3 separate regions of the Homo sapiens genome follow, and regions 1 and 3 are each linked to region 2. Evidence: promoter capture Hi-C in human tissues and cell types (Jung and others, 2019). All regions are on one chromosome and are shown on one strand. Each heading gives the region's core, a stretch centred on a gene start or on the middle of the fragment in contact. The rest is flanking DNA. Distances are from core to core; before and after follow the strand shown.

What was found. The method cuts DNA at HindIII sites, captures the fragments that hold promoters and counts their contacts. A contact is called where the count stands out against the background at its distance.
Region 1: a contact is called between a fragment that was not itself captured here and the fragment with the promoter of RAB3A in region 2, in 2 of the 25 tissues and cell types used here (dorsolateral prefrontal cortex and spleen).
Region 3: a fragment that was not itself captured here is called in contact with the fragment with the promoter of RAB3A in region 2 in 1 of the 25 tissues and cell types used here (dorsolateral prefrontal cortex).

The regions. Positions count from the first base shown.
Region 1 is chr19:18,505,278-18,509,450 of GRCh38, reverse strand. The region is part of intron 1 of ELL (elongation factor for RNA polymerase II); the gene reads left to right. Among named protein-coding and RNA genes, the nearest start is that of ELL, 15 kb to the left of the region's middle. RefSeq lists an enhancer at 1,189-2,030. The HindIII fragment of the contact is 5,227 bases long and covers 162-4,173 here.
Region 2 is chr19:18,202,459-18,206,729 of GRCh38, reverse strand. It overlaps RAB3A (RAB3A, member RAS oncogene family), which reads left to right and starts at 2,688. Exons shown (of 5, transcript NM_002866.5): 1 at 2,688-2,834; 2 at 3,990-4,217. The coding sequence starts at 3,990. It overlaps LOC102725254 (a long non-coding RNA gene), which reads right to left and starts at 2,000. Exons shown (of 2, transcript NR_134910.1): 1 at 1,831-2,000; 2 at 1,167-1,274. RefSeq lists silencers at 1,337-1,396, 2,282-2,671 and enhancers at 2,052-2,151, 2,337-2,631, 2,664-3,446. The HindIII fragment of the contact is 10,728 bases long and covers 1-4,271 here.
Region 3 is chr19:18,645,619-18,649,570 of GRCh38, reverse strand. The region is part of intron 1 of KLHL26 (kelch like family member 26); the gene reads right to left. Among named protein-coding and RNA genes, the nearest start is that of KLHL26, 11 kb to the right of the region's middle. RefSeq lists enhancers at 1-666, 667-1,477. The HindIII fragment of the contact is 9,166 bases long and covers 1-3,952 here.

The DNA.
Region 1 (4,173 bases), core at 1,526-4,025, 300 kb before region 2:
GCCCTTCTTTCGGAAGGGTGACTCCCCACCAGGAACCCAAAGGGCTTGGGGTGGCCTTGTCTCCTCCCACAGGCCTGAGGAGGGTAAGCTGGGTTGGGAAGTTCCTTTTTCCTTTCTGAAAACAGTGACTTTTCGGGGTACAATGAGCTTCCTGCTGTGGATCTTGTAGCCCCTACACCTGGAGGGAGTGACCTTAGGGTCTCAGTGGGCACTGTGATAAGGATGCCTGCTGGATTGCATCAGGGCGCCTGGTTCACAGGACCTCCAACCTGGCTGCTGTGGGGAAGGGCCCTGGTGGGTGCCTCCTGCTCACGGCTACTCTGAAATATTATTCCCGAGATCTTGAGGGGAACCTGGGCTGCGTCCACCTCATGTTTGCTCCATTTCCCCATGGAATTAGTGGTAGAGGTGACTCACAGGGTCTCTTTTTGTGTCCTCAAGGAAACTGAGGCCTATAGGCTCTGCCCAGGGTCACTGCTATAGTTGCTTATCCCCACAACAAGGCTTGCTGCCTTGTTAGGACGCGGACAGAGTGGGCTGTAGTGTGATCTTTTTCAGCAGCAACCCTAGAGACTATAGCGTGTTGGTAAACTGTGGCCAAAGGGCTGGGTCTGGCCTGCCACCTGTCTTTGTAAATAAAGTTTTATAGGGACACAGCTGCCCACTTGCTTACCTGTAATTTATGGCTGCTCTTGCCCTGTGACGGCAGCCAAGGCTGCAACTGTCTAGCTCACAAAGCCTGAAATACCAACTCTTTGGCCCTTCATAAAAGAAGCTTGCTGGCCGCTGGTCTAGGGTGTCCAGCTGGGTGTGTGGCAGGAAGAGTTGGTGTGTTAATGGAACCACTGTCGTGGGGCCAGGCTCGGGCCTTGGGCTCCCAGGCCCCTGTGCAGTGCCAGGCAGCCCTGTGAAGCCTTGCTGTTGGCCAGGGCCAGTTGAGACTTTGGAGGGTCCTTTTGTTCTGGCCCCTTTATTTCACTAATGGGACATCTAGAAGATAATGGCTAACTTGAGATCACACAGTTAGTGCAGATGATGTCAAACCTTGAACCTGAGGGCATCCACTCTGGGACAGGCTACCCTCCTGGCTGCTGACTCTTGTATTGTATTTTATTTTATTCTATTTTTGTTTTTATTTTTTAGAGAGAGGGTCTTGCTGTGCTGTCCAGGCTGGAGTGGAGTGGTGTGATCATAGCTCACTGCAGTCTGTTAACTCCTGGCCTCAAGTGATCCTCCCGCCTTGGCCTCCCAAAGTGCTATAGGCGTGAGCCACCACACTCAGCTGTGACTCCTATTTTGATCTCATGCAAACTCAAAATGTTTCTCAGCCCGCATGGGAGTCCCTGGGTTTTCCGGGAGTTTTTCTCAGGGACTGCATCAATCCTGACATAGCCTCCAGTGGGAACCGGCCTCTTTATTTGTGACCTGTATGTGACCTTTGAAACAAAACACAGTCATGTGCAGCCTGGATGGGAAGGGCTGGCTTGTGTGTCCCTTGTGGAGTTGGGAGCAGCTGCCGCATGGAGTCAGCCTCAGCCTGCTGCATCCTCATCTCTGGGGATGGAGCTGGGGGTCAGGCGTCTGCCTCCAGATGGGTAGTGGGGCCCGCAGAACCTGTGTCTGATTCTAGTTGGGCTCTGAATGCAGTCTCTGAGCTGAGCCTCAGCTGCGTGGTTGTTCGGCGGGGCACAACCTACACAGTGCAATCTCCTACACAGAGGGATTGCACCCAGTGAGGGTTCGGCTGCCTCCAGGAGTGTTTCTCCAGTAAGAAGCAGGAGGGATGAAGCCCCTGCGCTCACATGGCCCACTTCTTCGCAGCGGGGAGGTGCACCATAAACCAGCAACAGCCAGATCATGGTGGCTTCAGACTGGCTTGGTGTGCAGTGGTGGTGGACATGGGCAGGCAGGCATCTCCCTCCACAGAAGCAAGCTCACCTTGGGCTGGGGAGACCTAGGAGACCCTTCCAGAACTTTCTTAGCTCGGGGCAAGTGCCGTGTGCAGATTAGATTCTTTGTTAGATACCAGTGGCTTGAAAGACTCAGAGGAGGACTTCCTGAGCAGTTCTCTGCCAAGGGGCTGTGGGTCTGTGGCCAGGCTCTGGCAGCAGACTTGGCCTGTTTTCACTCTTCTTATCTGGGGATGTTATCTCTCCCTTTTCAGAGTTGGGTGTGACCCTTGAACTGCCACAGGCCAGGCACAGACTGTGCAGGGAGGTATCTGAGGGCAGGGAGCGGGTGCAGCTAGAAGAGCGTGTTCCTTCCTCTCCTGGTGGCACTATTTTTGGAGTTGGATGCTCTCAGACGCCTGCTTGTTCCAGTGAAATGTGCTCAGCTCACACTGGATTTGGCAAGTGGGAGGGGACAGCCAGTGCTGGCAGCCTGTGTCCAGCTCATCTCCAGGCTGCCCTGGCTCTCTTACCTGTGCACAGGCTCCCACTGGTCGAGGGCCATGTGCCTGGAGCCACATGACCCCATAATGTAGGAATCGCTTCCATCTTGTAGGCCAGCTCCTTGTAGATAGGAAGTGGAGCCGTGTTGAGAAGGATTCTGAGGCGATGTCTGGCGTAGAGCGTAGGATCAATGAGACAGGGTCCCTGGCCCTCTGATCATAGCATCTCTGTGGGGAGAGTTCCCTCTAATCTCTGAGCTGAGGAGGGTAACGAACTCCTAGGTGTGCAAGGTGAGGTTCACATGCTGTTGAACGGAAGTCTGCTTTTGTTTTTTCAGACGAGGTCTTGCTCTGTCATCCAGGCTGGGGTGCAGTGGTGTGATCATAGCTCACTGCAGCCTTGGCTCCCGGGCTCAAGTGATCCTCCTACCTCAGCCTCCCAAATAGCTGGGACTACAAGTGCGTGGCACCACACCTGGCTAATTTTTTATTTATATGGAGACAGAGTCTCCCTGTGTTGCTCAGCCTGGTCTCAAACCCCTGACCTCAAACGAACTTCCTGCCTTGGCCTCCCAATGTGCTGGGCTTACAGGCGTGAGCCATGGCACCCAGCCGAGCAGAAGTCTGGGCTGATGCTGCACCCCAGAGGCACAGGAGCTTTGGATCCCTTTCCCCCTGGGGGAGAGGGTAACTTGCCACAGTCTGCTCTGAAGCAGCCCGGGTGTCCCTCCACTGTGGGAGGCGGCTTAGGAGCAGGCGCACCTTGAGGGTGGCCCAGGCAGGTCGCTGGAGGGTGCGGGAGACAGGGCCCAGGCCTGGGGCGGTGCCAGCAGGGCTGTCTCCATGTTGACTGTGGGGGGCTGGTTCCAAGCCAGGCTTCAGACCCAGCTGCTGCGTGTGGCATGGCCTGAGTGCCAGGGGCAGCAGCCTGGGCACACATGGGCACCCAGGGCTTGGAGGGAGGCTGGGTCAGTGGGCCTAGGTGCAGAGCTTCTGGGTGTCTAGACTGTTGTCCCAGGGATGGCTGAGGGCCAGCATGGGGGGCCCAGGCTGCCACCTTTGCCTCACTGGTATTGGCCACATGTGTGCTGGGTGGTCTGTGTAGTACAGAGCAGGACACAGGGTGGGGGTACCTGACTGTACAGTGGTGCCACCCTCTGGGCCTCAGTTTCTCCCTCTGCTGTGTGGGGTCATCCTGTGGGTGGGAGGTCAGGTCAGTGCCTGCAGCCCCTCCTGCAACTCACATTCACCTCTCCTTACTTTGCTTTCCTGTCCGTGGGGTGTTTTGGGGTTCAGGGAGCTGTGTCCCAGGACATCAGGGGAACACAAGCCGCATCCCGTGGCCCCCACTCCTCTCCCGTCCTCTTCTCCCCTCCCCTGTGTGTGCCTGGTGCCTTAGGTGGCTTGCAAGGCGCCAGTCACACACTGTTTCCTTTCCCGGCTTAGCCCTTTCCCATCACAGAAACCCCAGCTCTCTCCCAGGCTATCTCATAGTAAGGAGCCTGCGTTACTGAGGGCTGTTGAAGCACCAAAACCTAGGAAACTCTGGATGAGGTGAAGAGCATGTGTGTGTGTGGCACAGGTACTATGGCCCTGCCCAGTGCTCTGCACACCTGCCTTCCTGCCTGCCTGGGAAGTGGGATGAGTAATGGCAGTAGCTGGGGCTTATTGCCGGGTGCCCTTGCCCGTGGGAGGGTGTGACTGGCCACAGCATCCTTAGGATGAAGAATTGAGTAGAGAAGAATAGCAAAAGCTATCTTCAGTCCTAACAAGAGCCTAAC
Region 2 (4,271 bases), core at 1,439-3,938:
TTAAGTTAGTGTCTTCTTCCCCGAGAAGTCGTCCCTGGACCCGTATCTGGGATACTTTTTTTTTTTTTTCTTGAGACAGAGTCTCCCTCTAGCACCTAGGCTGGCGTGCAGTGGTGCCGGTGATCTCAGCTCACTGCAACCTCCGCCTCCCTGGTTCATGCGATTCTCATGCCTGGGCCTCCTGAGCAGCCTCCTGGGACAGGCACCACCACACCGGGCTAATTTTTGTATTTTTAGCAGAGATGGGGTTTCACCATGTTGGCCAGGCTGGTCTCGAACTCCTGACCTCAAGGTCAAGGAGTGATCCTCCTGACTCGGCCTCCCAAAGTGCTGGTATTACAGGCATAAACCACCGCACCTGGCCACATTTTTATTTTTATTTGTCTAGTGTAGACGATAGGGTAGGGATGCAGGGAAGCCTCTGGACTTTCCTCTGAGTGGGACCGGCCTGGAAGCCTAGCCCGTTCTCCCACCAGCTCTGTCTCCCCTGACACAAAGAAAATACCCCAATCCCGCAGCCCCTCCCCCAGCTCAACCATTTCTAATTCCAGAGCCCAATGCTGCTCTGGACAATCAAGGGCTTGCATTCTTTTTAAATTTAAATTAAGTAATTAATTTTTTGAGACAGCGTCTCACTCTGTCGTCCAGGCTGGAGTGTAGTGGCGCGATACGGTTTCCTACAGCCTCGACCTCCTGAGCTCAAGTGATCCTCCTACTTCAGCCTCGGGAGTATTTGGGTCCACAAGCACGCGACACCACATCCAGCTAATTTTTAAATTTTTTGTAGAGATGGGGCCTCCCTATGTTACTCAGGCTGGTTTCCAATTCCTGGGCTCAAGCGATCCTCCCGCCTTGGTCTCCCAAAGTGGTGGGATTACAGGCGTAAGCCTCCGCACCCGGCTATTTTTACTTTAAAATACTAAGTCAGTGACGGAAGCTTCCGCACATTCTCGTGGCTCACTTTTCTCTTCCTGGGGAAAAAAGGCAGGAGGTATTTCCGAGAGAGCCACCCATGTAGGAAGCGTGCCTTTGGGCGATCAGGGAGCTGAGCAACCGAAAAACCTCCCCTCCAAGGAGGCGGCAGGCCAGGGCCTGGACCAGCTGCCCTGGAGCCCCCCACAGAGCACGGACTACCGCGTGGGCGCGGAGGGCAGGGAGAATGGGAGGTGGATTTCTTTTTATTTTTTGTTTTTCTGAATTTTCCCAATTTCTCTGCAGTGGATTGGTGATACTTCTATAGTCCGAGTGGGGGAGGAGGGAGCAAACATGTTACCCTAAAAAGAAAAAATAAATTTCCCAAATGTAAACGGTGCGGGGACGTGGGGGTGGGCGTCCCAGTACTCCCAGGGCACTGGGGGCGGGCTGGGGACTGGGTTGGCGGCGGCTGGGCCTCGAGGCGCTAAGTTATTCTGGTCTCTCGGCGCCTCCGCAGCTGGCGAGCTTTTTATAAACAGGACGAGTCACCCCCCGCCACACACACACGCTCCAGCCCCGCCTACTGGGAGGGGTGGGGGGAGAATCTAGGGGATCAGGACTCTCCTGGGGGCCACACACCCCTGGAGGGTTTGAAAGCTGGAGTAGGGGGAGCAGGAGACCCAAAGTGGGGGCTGGGGTTTCGGGCTCCTCCTCCCTCCCCAAATTCTGACTTCCTTCCCTAAAGATTTGGAGGAATAAAAGATGGACCATCTTAGCTCCCAAAAGGCTCCATCCTCTGAGTTTTGCTTTCCCAGGATGGAGGGAGGGGGTCTCCCAGCCCCCGGGTCTTTGAATCCGAGCTTTGAAGAGCTGGAGGCTTCGGCTCGTGCCCTCCCTGTTTCCCGGGGCATTTACCGCAGGCTTTAAGGGGTTTCCGGGACAGGTCGCTTCTCTGTCCCTGCTAAACCTTTTCTTCGAATTTTCTTCTTGATGACGGGGCGCAGGGAGGGGAGGGGGTTCCCAGAGAGTCCATCAGCCCCTTCCTCCTTTTCTGGGAATGGTGGGGAGGGGAGGCTCTCTTGACCTCTACTTCTTTCTTTTCAAACCTCAGAAACGGGGGAGGGGTGGAGTCTTTACTAGCCCCTCCCTCAGTGGGGGGGTCTTACGCCTCGGGAATGGGACAGGGGTCCCTCTTGACTCCTGTTTATTCTTTGGTATTTATTTTGAACCCCATATATGTGAGGGTATAAAACATCTCTTGGGCCTCGATTTTTCTTTTCTGCAATTGGGAGTCAGGGGCATTTAACAGGGGTCACAGCACCTTGGACTAGACGGTGGCCTCAAGAGTCCCCTACCTGGGGTGGGTGCGGGCGGGTAAGGGAACCGCCCCTCGAAGACCGGGGCTCAGCCAAGGCCTCAGCCTCTCGGCCCTTCAATCTCCCAGATGCCACCATTGGACAAGAGGAGGGCGTAGACAATCTCTGATTGGCTACTTCGCCCGTCGCTCGAGAGCTTAAGCCAGTGAGAGAACGCTGAGGGGCCCCGCCTCCCCGAGGCGGACAGGAGGCGGACGAGAGGCGGAGTCGGCCCCCGCGCCGCTCCCGCCCCTACTGGATGCACACGCTAGGCCCCGCCCCATTTGCACGTCAATCTGCTCAGGAGCCCTGCCCCATCTGGCTCTGCGTGCGTCAATGGGCCACATCTCTACGCGCGGCTCCGCCTCCGGATGGCGTCACGGACTTATCTACATGTGAGGCTCCGCCCCTCCCTTTGCAGGACGTCACGGAGGACTGCAGGGGCCTGAGCCGCTGCTGCCGCCGCCGCCGCGCAGCCCCACATCAACGCACCGGGGTCCTGTCACCGCCACCGCCAAAAAAGTCACCGCCGCTAGGGTCGCCGTTGCATCGGTGCAGGGCAAGGTGAGCTCCTGGGCGGCCGGGTGTGCTCAGGCTCCGAGCACCTGCATAACCTTCATTTGACTGATGGGCTGATGGAGGTGGGGGACGAGGTTGACTAGGGTTGAATGGGGGGAAGGATGCGGCGGTCGCGAGGCTGGGAATGGGTAGGGCCCGGGCGCCCCACTCCTGCCTGATCCTCACCACTAACCCCCCCAACCCCCCTGCTCTGCGGCGGAGGGGGAGGGGAGCCGAGCTCCTTGCGGGAAGCTGTGCGCGCGGGAGGCTTTTGCGTGCGCGTGCGCGTGGTGTGCACACGCGTGTGCGCGCCTGCCTGTGTCAGCGGGTCTGTGTGCACCCTTGCTTGTGTACCTGGATATGCTCGTGTGACGCCGTGGGGGTCTGGGCCTAAGTGTGTGAGCGTTGCACGCGCGTGGAGAAAGACGTGTGGACCGCCTGTGCAGGTATGGCCCGTGCATACAAGCACGGGGATCCGTGTCCGTGTGGGTGATGTGCACACGCCTGCATGGGTGGAGGGGCCTGTGCGCACGGGTGGTTTGCACATTTCTATAGGCGAGTCGGTGTGCAAACAGGTGTCTGTGTCTTTGTCCTGTGCACCTCAGTGCGTTCACACACTCCTGTATGTACGGATGAGCGTGTTTGAGGCTGTGTGCACGTGAGCGTGTGCATGCCCCTCCTGTATCATGTGATGCAGCGGCCTTGGCCGGAGCTCTCCGGCCTGGAGGTTTGCGGGGAGCGGGGGCTGCAGATGCGCGTCCTCGAGGGACCATGCACGCGGTGCACGTGGGGCCGCGCGGCCGGGTTCTGAGGACCATGAAAGATTGATGGGGGGCGGAGCCAGCCGCAGTCACCCCCTCCGGGCTCAGCCCTGGGTTTAGGGTTACAGCCCCACCTGGGGCACCTGCCCCTTGAAGGGGGCTGCTGGGGTGTCCCCATCGGCAACCCTCTGAGCCCCTCCTCTGAAACGCCCAGGATTTCAAGGTCACAGGCTGCCCTCTGCTGGGGGCACCACCAATTAATACTGGGGCTCCTGATGGGATAAGGGTGTCCTCCATACACCGGCCGTTTTCTGGAGCCCTTGCCATCTTCTGCCTGGGCTTGGGCACATGAGGATGGAGAGAGCCCCCCTCACGGCTCTGCTACACCCGGTATCCCCAGATGGCATCCGCCACAGACTCGCGCTATGGGCAGAAGGAGTCCTCGGATCAGAACTTCGACTACATGTTCAAGATTCTCATCATCGGCAACAGCAGCGTGGGCAAGACGTCCTTCCTCTTCCGCTATGCTGACGACTCGTTCACGCCTGCCTTCGTCAGCACCGTGGGCATCGACTTCAAGGTCAAGACCATCTATCGCAACGACAAGAGGATCAAGCTGCAGATCTGGGTGGGTCCCAGCTGGAGGGCTCCCGCCCGGCTCGGTTGGATTCCCGTACTTGGA
Region 3 (3,952 bases), core at 988-3,487, 440 kb before region 2:
GCAGGGCTGAGGTTTTGCTCACTCACTAAAGACAGCACACGCAAAACGGTATGGTGCCCTGGGCTCTGTAACAGGTAACAGGGCTGGTTTACTGACAACATGCCTGTGAATTTCTGCTTCTCCGCCCACACCCTGCTGGTTCAATGAAGTGAAGAGGAAGAGGCGGATGACCCTCGGCCAGCCTGGGCATGCAGAGCTATGCCAGGAGGCTTCCCCTCTGGTATGCATCGAAGACTGTTCGGGGTGGGGTACTCACTGGATCTACACTCAAAAGCATCCATCCCGTGCCAGTAGCTGTGCCAGCGCCAGGACCACCACTGTAAAAAGATCTGATAAAGCCCTGCCCTTGGGGAACGTACATTCTACAGGGACATGGGTCCTCAAGCAGAGAATGTACCATGACGACAGGGCGAGCAGTGGCGCCACGGTGGACACAGTGGCCAGGCCCCGAGGAGACAACACTTGAGCCGTGCAAATCACTGGGACAGGACATTCCAGTGAGCGTGCTTCAGAGCCCAGCAGAGCCGTCAGAGCTGCGGAAGCTCAGGGGCCCAGCGGGTCACATCAAGAAGTAGATTTTGTTCTGAGAGTGAGGGAGCCACTGGCAGGTGGCCGGCAGGGGAGTGAGGTGGTCTGATTCCTGCCTTAGGAGGGTCCCGCTGGCTGGAGTTGGGGATGATGCCCAGAAGGGGAAGAGCCAGGAGTGGCTCTGAGCTGGGATGGGGAGGAGAGAGCAGGAGGAGCTGGCTCCAGGCTGTGGCTCGAAGGTGGAACCCACAAGAGATGCTACCTGAGGACCTCCTGGGCAGCTGCAGCCAGACTGAGGCCTTCTCTCAGGAGGAGGGACATTCCCAGGACTGGGACCTGCTGGTGGGAAGACCTGAAGCCCTCAAGGACTGTGGGAGCTCCAAGTGGCACGAACCCTGAGCAAGGAGAGGCATGAAGGGCTTTTCTGGAACACAGGAAGGGCTGCGAATCCCCTAGGCCAGGTGGCGCCTCCAAGTCTGCTGCTTGTTGCAGGCAGTGCAGCCGCGCGGGACCAAGGACAACCCTGACCTTCAGCCTGCCCGGTGGGGAGGGCAGAAACTGGCCACCACTATCAGTCAGCACAAGCTCAACCTCCAGGCATCCCCAAGCCTGCGTGTGCCTCTCCATCCCTCCAGGGCCCACCTTGGCCGAGGGTCCCTTGTCTCTTGCCAGAGGGATCCTTTCTTTTTTGAGACAGAGTCTCACTTTGTCGCCCAGGCTGGAGTGCAGTGGTGCAATCTCGGCTCCTGGGTTCAATCGACTCTCGTGCCTCAGCCTCCAGAGCAGCTGGGACTACAAGCACCCGCCACTGCGCCCAGCTAGTTTTGTGTATTTTTAGTAGAGACTGGATCTCACTATGTTGCCCAGGCTGGTCTCGAACTCCTGACCTCAAGTGATCTACCCGCCTTGGCCTCCCAATGTGCTGGGAATACAGGTGTGAGCCACCACACCCGGCCTACAGAGGGATCCTTTCAAAACAGGAGGCTGACTGATATGCCGCTCACCCAAACCCTGCCCTGGCCCCCTGGCCCAGCCAGCCCGGAAATGACCGCACGACGTTCTCTAACTCCTGCTGGCATGTATGCGCCCCATGGGCAGGGTCCATCTGTCCCATGGACCCTTCATGTCCAGCACCAGGCATGGGGTGGACACAGGAGACTGTGGCACCTGCACAAAGGCAGAGAAATGTGTCTAACAAATCCTGTCCACAGAGCAAAGAGCTGGGGATGCCGGGACACATGCTGCCCAGTCACCCCTTGCCTTCAGTAGATCCCACCCCCTTCTTCCAGGATCCAAGGCCCCAAGTCGCTGAATTATTTCTATCTGTGTCCTTCCCCCTCATCCTCCTCTCTCCCTCCCCATTCTCCTGTTCTTTTTCTCCTCCTCTCTCTTTCCTCCTCCTCCTCTCTTCCTCCTCCTCTTCCTCCTCTTTTTCTCCTCCTCCTCTTCCTCCTCCTCCCTCTCATCTCCTCCTCCTCTTCCTCCACTCTTCCTCCTCCTCCTCTCTTCCTCCTCCAGGGCCTCTTAACACCAAATCTAAAACATTCCCTAAAACCAAAGGGTAAGACACACACACACACACAAATATCAGAAAAAGGAAAAAACCAAAGGGCTGGAGTGAGGAGAAAGCCTCCCTTTTACAGTGTCTGAGGAGAGGTGGGTGAGATAAAAAGTAATCGCCGTGGGGGAGGTGGGATGACATTCGCAGGGGCTCCCTGGAGATGGTGCGATTATGGCGGAGGGTAATAAAGCCTTTCTTCCCCGGTAACTACGGACAACGACAAGGAGGCCGTCCCGGGGGTCACAGCTACCAGGTGGAAACAGTCCAGCTGTGACGATCGCACTGCACGATTCAGGTTGAAGTGAGTGCTTTCAGAGCAATTCCACTCCCAGAGCTCTTGGGACCTGCCGACAAGGAGGGGAGGAGAGGGTGGCCTCCTTCCCAGAGAAGGGGCTCAGCTGTGAGGGGCAGATCGAGTGGCCTGGATGTGGCTCGGCCTGTGGGCCAGTGCCCTTCTTGGGCTGGCCCAGTTCCACCTGCCCCCATCCCTGCTGAGACGCGCCACCCCCCGCCGCCCCTGCCCCCGCCCTGCCGAGCTCCTGCTCCCAGGCCTACTCCTGGCGGAACCTGCCCTCTCCAGCTCACGCTGGACGTGCTCTACTCTCTCGCTGCCCCTGCTGCTGTCCCTCTTACGGCCCAAGTCATGGCACTACTGTCTTCCCAATGGCTCAAGTTCACCCTCTCCTTTCCCTGCCTGACACACGCACGCCACATCAAGGCTTGCTGGCATTGACGATCCCCTCAAGGCCCATGCGGGCATGGCGGGCAGAAGGATGGCAGTGTCCCCATCATGGGCGTCAGCACTGCCACAGTAACACTGATGAGGTACATGTGACCTCTCCCCACTCGTTTCCTCCCAGACACCCCCCACCTGGTGGGCCTGGAGCCCCATTTCCCAGATGAGGAATCTGTCACAGCCACAACCCATAAAGAGGGAGCCACAGTCACCCATGGGTATGATGAGACACCTCATGCCGCCATATCTGACCACATTTTCCAGGAGAAGGACTTGAGTCCACGTCTTGGAAGGGTCAAAATCCTCCTTCTGAAAGGGGCATGAGGCCGGGCGCACTGGCTCATGCCTGTAATCCCAGCACTTTGGGAGGCCAAGGCAGGTGGATCACCTGAGGTCAGGAGTTCGAGACCAGCCTGGCCAACATGATGAAACCCCATCTCTCCTAAAAATACAAAAACTAGCCAGGCATGGTAGTGGGCGCCTGTAGTCCCAGCTACTTGGGAGGCTGAGGCAGGAGAATCACTTGAACCCAGAAGGCGGAGGTTGCAGTGAGCCAAAATCATGCCACTGCACTCCAGCCTGAGCTCAGAGTGACGTCAAAAAAAATTAATAATAATAAAAAAGAAAGGGGCAAGAGGCCAAAGGAATGAGAACTTCCCCAAAGTAGCAAGAACCTCCTTGGGAAGCCACCTCTTCCCCTAAGTCTTCCTAGCAGGAGCTGGGGGGCTGGACCCTTCCAAGGCCTCTGGGCTTGGTGGAGATGATCTAGATTGTGGAGAAAGCTTCAACAGGCAAAGGCCACCCAGCCAGACTGACTGTGACAAACCCACCGGGCGCAGCGTCTCGGCCACAACTTTCCATGCAAACACTTTCAGCAGGCAGCAAAGCCCCTGGGCACAACGTCCCAGCCATCACTTCTTTTTTTTTTTTTTTTGATACAGAGTCTCACTCTGTCGCTCAGGCTGGAGTGCAGTGGCAGGATCTCGGCTCATTGCAACCTCCTCCTCCCAGGTTCAAGCGATTCTCCTGCCTCAACCTCCAGAGTTGCTGGGATTAAAGACGCCCACCACCACACCTGACTAATTTTTGTATTTTTAGTAGAGAGGGGGTTTCACTATGTTGGCCAG